Regions from separate parts of the Homo sapiens genome. Here region 1 is linked to region 2. The links are contacts of gene promoters, found by promoter capture Hi-C in human tissues and cell types (Jung and others, 2019). All regions are on one chromosome and are shown on one strand. Each heading gives the region's core, a stretch centred on a gene start or on the middle of the fragment in contact. The rest is flanking DNA. Distances are from core to core; before and after follow the strand shown.

Region 1 (2,700 bases), core at 133-2,632, 200 kb after region 2:
TGCTTCTTGTGCAAGGTGGAGGTGAATAAAAATTTGTAAGAATCCTAGAGCTGAGTACTAATTTTGATGTTTTTTTGGCAACTGTCTGGTTGTTTATTTTTGAGAACCTAGCCCAAAAGATGTCTTAGTCACAGCTGATTATCTTATTTACTCTTTTTTTTTTTTTTTTGGAGAGCTTATTCAAGTGTAAAGTGTGGGGATGGACCACTCAGAAACACCAACTCCATAGGAATGGAGTTGGCATTCCAAAGTAGGGAAGCTAAAGTTTCATTTGTATAGGCAGAGACAGAGGAGCTTTTGGCAGGATTACAACATTATTCATGTAAGGGTTGGCACATAGTTACAATTTGATTGGTTAGGTTTTGTTGTTGTTGATTTTTATTTATTTATTTATTTATTTTTGAGATGCAGTCTCATTCTGTCACCCAGGCTGGAGACAAGGTCTTGCTCTGTCACCCAGGCTGGAAGGCAGTGGTGCAATCGTGGCTCACTGCAGCCTCAACCTCCCAGGCTCAAGCGATCCTCCCACCTCAGCCTCCTGAGTAGCTGAGACCACAGGTGCATGCCACCACACCTGGCTAATTTTTAAAATTTTTTTTGTAGAGACAGGAGTCTCACTATGTTGCCAGGGCTCATCTTGAACTCCTGGGCTCAAGCAATCCACCCGCTTCAGCCTCCCAAAGTGCTGGGATTACAGGTGTGAGCCACCACACCCTGTTTTGATTATCTTGCTCTTAACTATGCATTACTCTTATTTATTTGAACATCTGTATCTAAGTTTTACAGTTTTAAGCTTAGCATCATCATTAGTATTAATGAAATAGAGCCCTGAGTTTCTTGCCTTAGTTGAACACATACTTAAATCATTTGTAAAACACTTCAACTGTTTACAGAGTGTTTTCACATACAGTATACCTTTAAAGCTTCATACTTTTGTCCTTAAACTCACCATATACAATAATGAACTCCTTTCTGCCCCTACCCCTAAACATGCTTTTCCTCCTCCTCCATTTCCTAAATCATTTTACAGTACCACTGTAAAACTGTTGATAAAGCTAGGAGCCATAACCTCATCATACAAATCTCATCCTGTCGATCTGGGTTCATTGAGTTTCTCAAAGGTTTGGATTTGTAGTTTTAATTAAAGGGAACCTTTTGCCAGTACTTCTTCAAATATTAATTCTGGCCACATAACCCCTTTCTGAAACTCTGATACATATATATGAGACCCTTTGAAGTTGTCCCAACTCACCGATGCTGTGTTCTTAATTTTTGTGTTCTTAATTTTTTTCCCTGTCTTTTTTTTTTTCAAAAACAGAGTCTCACTCTGTCACCCAGGCTGGAATACAGTGGCACAATCTCAGCTCATTGCAACCTCCACCTCCCGGGTTGAAGTGATTCTTCTACCTCAGCCTCCCGAGTACCTAGGATTACAAGCATGCACCACCACACCTGGCTAATTTTTTGTATTTTTAGTAGAGACAGGGTTTTGCCATGTTGGCCAGTTTGGTCTCAAATTCCTGGCCTCAAGTGATCCACTGGCCTCACCCTCCCAAGATGCTGGGATTACAGGCATGAGCCACCGCACCTGGCTTCCCTGTCTTTTTTTTCCTCTGTGGTTTGATTTTAGACCTTCTATTGCTGTATCTTTGGGTTCATTGATCTTGTCCTGTGCAATGTCTATGTTGGTAATCCAGTCCAGTGTATTTCTCATCTCAGATAGATTTTTCAGCCTCTATAAGTTAAATTTTGGTCTATTTTATATAGTCTGTGTCTCTTCTTAACAAGCCCATGTTTTCTTCTATTGTCTTGAACCATGGGACATATTTATAATCGCTGTTTTAAGGTCCATGTCTACAAATTCTATCATCTGTTTAGTTTCTGGATCAGTTTTTATCAATTGACTTTTTTTCCTTAATATGGGTTTTATTTTCCTTCTTCTTTTCATGCTTGATAATTTTTAATGGATCCCAGATATTGTGGATTATACATTGTTGGGTGCTAAATTATTTTGTTTTCTCTTACTTTTGAGCTTTGTTCTTGGATGCAATCAGGCAACTTGAAAACATTTTGATCCTTTTGAGGCTTGCTTTTAAGTTTTGCTATAGAAAACTAGACATTGTTTATTCTAGGGCTAATTTGACCCCACTACTCAGGCAATTTCCTTCTAAGTACTCAACTCAGTGCCCCATATATTATGTTTTCTACACTTTGTTCAGAATGTGAATTATTCTCAGGCCTATGTGAGTTGTGGGGATTGTTCTGCTTGATTCCTTCCAGCACTTCTTTCCTTGGCCATAGGTAGTTTGGGATTCAAAATGAATTTTTAAACTATGAGTGAGACTTAAGCATATTTAAATATGGCTGAGACAAATTCACTGAAGCCTGATATTTAGGATGTGAGACAAGAAGCCTGTAGAAAATAGGATCCAGACAGCAGGTGGAGAAATTGGTCTGAAATACAAGGGATGCCTCCTCTTACAATGGTAAGAAAGAAGGAGAGAATCCAGATGTCAGAAAGTTTGTAGATATTTTCACAGGAAGTTGAGGAAGTTTCCACATATTGAGAGGTGTGTGTGTATGCGTGCATGTGTATGTGAGAGAGAGAGAAGCAGGAGGCAGGAATGAGTAAGGAGAAAGGGAACGGGGTCAGTGATTTTAGGAGAATGGAACTGGGTCAGCTGATTTTAGAAAATGGAA
Region 2 (2,979 bases), core at 379-2,878:
AACTATGTAATTGGTGAGGAAAGGATGAATACATTTTTCGGGCTTTCAATATGAAATTCTTTAAAAGTTTGAACAATTGGGTTACTCAGAACTAGCCAGAAACCACAACTTACAACTGTGGTGTCAAGTTCAGATCAATGTCTTGGAGTTCAAGACTGTTTTAAGGGAGGCTGCCTGGGGAAAATGTCATTAAACATTTTACCCGAATCCTCTAGATGTCCATCATAAACTCTCTCATGGAGCTTTCCTAAAGTATAGGCATTTTAATGTTTCCTGAGTAAAACAGTATTTTCTTTGATCCTTCAATAACAATTCTTGCTTGTAGCCAGTTTTCAGCACAGTGCCGGCTTCACAGATACTCACTGAACTAAAGAAAATGGTAAAGGATGAATGTCTATTGAGCATAAAATGCGACTGAGGGAGAGGTTATATAAAAGCAATGGAAGACAGTTTCTGCTCTAGATTTACAGTCCAACCTTACTTACATAAGTGTAAAATATTTTCTTCTTTGTTTCAGTCCCTAATATAGCTATTTTGCTCTAGGAATTAGCATTTCCTCCACAAGAGAGAATCACTAAACTCCCTATTTCTCAATGTTGTTTATGCCGTTGATTGTCCAGGTTCTCAAATTACTAAATGAAGTTGAGAGTTGGGTAAATGGTTGAGCGGTTCAAGTATCTTAAGTAAAAACTAAGTGGCCAATTGTTGTTGTGCTCAGGGTTGGCCTGGGACTGTTCACAATGGTCACAGGTTTACAAATTTTTAAAAACCTGCGTGTGACATGCTTTCCAGGTCCTTTGTCAAAACGTCCGTCTGACCCTGACTTTTGTGTGGCTTCAAATGTGCGTTTGCAATGTGTAGACAAATTCCAACTCAGAGTTCCAAGAGGTAAGCCAAGCTCTGTGTGGCAGCAAGGCTTATCAAGAGCGAGGCTAAGGGGTGAAGTGAGTGTGTGTGTGTGTGTGTGTGTGAGAGAGAGAGAGAGAGAGAGAGAGAGAGACCACTGCTGTGCTCAGGATTCCTCTCTCCTTTTTGCTTTTTGCCAACTAGCTGTTTCTCCACAGCGGAGATCTGAGACGAGTATGTGGCTGATTCGGGCAAAACAAAACAAAATAAAACCAAACGAAACCAAAACAGACTTACTATTACCAAATCTGAGAGTCAGTGGGTGGGAATCCTTTTCAACCAAGGAGACCTGTCCATGGTCCTGACCACATCATTTGCCACTCGCCTCCTTCATGGACACCGTTTGCTCCAAGTACCGGACGGGAGGGCGCCCGGCGCCAGGAAGCTTGGGCTTGGGCCCCCACACGAGCTCGGCGCGCTTCGGGCGGGTCTCGGGCGCGGGCCCGTGGCTCTCCGGGCCGGGCACCTGTTTCGAATCGAGGCGCGAGGCGCGGTGGGGCGGTGGGGTGGGGTGGGGTAGGTTGGGGTGGGGGCGGGGTGGCGTCACGTGCCAGCGGCGGCCCCGGGAAGGTTCCATTTCTTCCGCGGCCCGCACTCGCGGCGCTCGGGGCCCCTCCCTCGCCCCGCCCGCGGCGCCCCTCGCGGCCGCACAGCCGGGCGACTCCGGGCCGGGCCCCGCCCCTCTCGCTGGCGGACTCAGCGCGTCCTCCGCCAGCCCTCGCGTCTGCTGCCCCCGCCATCCAGTTGGTGCGGTCCATGGCGAGCGCATCATGGCGATTGAAGGTAAGTGGAGGCTGACAGCGGGGAGCGAGGACCGGGACCACCCAGCTGGCGGGGGGCTCGGAGGTGCGCCGGCAGGCCGAGGCGCTGACGGGGCCGCCTCCTGTGGTCTGGAGCCGGCTGAAGACGCGCGGGGGTCCTGGCCGCGTCTCGGGAGGCGGGTGGGCGGAGCGGCGCCGCTGGGACGCCGGGCCCGACTGGCTCGCTCGCCCCGGCCTTCGTGGTTTTGCCGGCCTCCCGGCGGCCGCACGCGGGGCAAAGCGGGCTGGCGGGCAGGTACAGCGTCCGGGCCGCCGCCTCCTGCCGGCCGCGCGGAGTGGAGGTCGGGGTGAGGCCCTGCAGACCCCACGGGACGGGCTGGGAGGAGCGAGGGGCCACGGGGGGCTCAGGCTGCCCTTTCTTTTCTTTCCCCGGCCGCGGCAAACCATCCTTCCGCAATACCCACCTTCCTGCCAAACTGAGAGTCCAGTTTTTTGTCCCATTCCTAACCCTTCCCTGTGCCCGCTCGGGCTGATGCTGGGTTACACTCTCTGCCCGTTCCCCTTCTGTTTGCTGTTGTAGGGGGTCCAGGAAATTTGGGGTTAGGTTAATTTCCTCCTCAAGTGGTTTTGTTCCCCGCCAACACTCAAAACTGTTTTTCTCCATGAAAAGAAGTAAATAACGTCTTTACAACAAGCACACATTCTTAGAATCCTGCAAATACCAGTCTATGAAGTGTTATAGTGCCACAATGCTCATATTTCGAAAAACAGCTTAATAAAAATTAAGTTCCTAGATAAGGTAGTTGACACTAAAGTGTATTTTTCTCTTGTTCCAGAAACATGTAACTGGGACCAAGTGTCTATATTTTGCCTTGTTTTTAAGGAAGAGATTGTGAGAATTAATTTCACACGTCTAGGATATTTATGTGAAAGATTACATCTTCCAGGCCCTGTCTCTTAGATTAACTCAAACAGTGAAAGTAATTTGTAAATTTTCCCTGTGTGTGTATATTCATCTGTGCAGCTGTGCAAGGTACCTATAGCTATATCATTATTTCTCTACATTGAAAGTGTGTTCCTAAGTAAAACTTTTTAAAGCGTTTCCCTTCTAAGTGATCAATCACTGGTAGTATGCATCTCTGGGGACTTCTTTTTGTCGGATCATGTGGACTCCAAAGTAGAGTTAGCTGTGTGTTTACATGTAGCTTATTTATTTAAGAGAGGGAGTACCTATTGTATGCAAGACACATTCAGACAGTTTCAAATGTCTGCTTGAGTTAAAATGGTGGGGAATAAGATCTACCTATAATCT

The links. Contacts are between HindIII fragments. The study calls those that stand out against the background at their distance.
Region 1: a fragment that was not itself captured here is called in contact with the fragment with the promoter of SYT14 in region 2 in 1 of the 25 tissues and cell types used here (thymus).

Annotation. Positions count from the first base shown.
Region 1 is chr1:210,133,688-210,136,387 of GRCh38, forward strand. All of the region lies in intron 6 of SYT14 (synaptotagmin 14), which reads left to right. Among named protein-coding and RNA genes, the nearest start is that of SERTAD4, 98 kb to the right of the region's middle. The HindIII fragment of the contact is 5,371 bases long and covers 1-2,700 here.
Region 2 is chr1:209,936,589-209,939,567 of GRCh38, forward strand. SYT14 (synaptotagmin 14) reads left to right here and starts at 1,629. Exons shown (of 9, transcript NM_001146262.4): 1 at 1,629-1,689. The coding sequence starts at 1,677. RefSeq lists a silencer at 1,076-1,370. The HindIII fragment of the contact is 7,833 bases long and covers 144-2,979 here.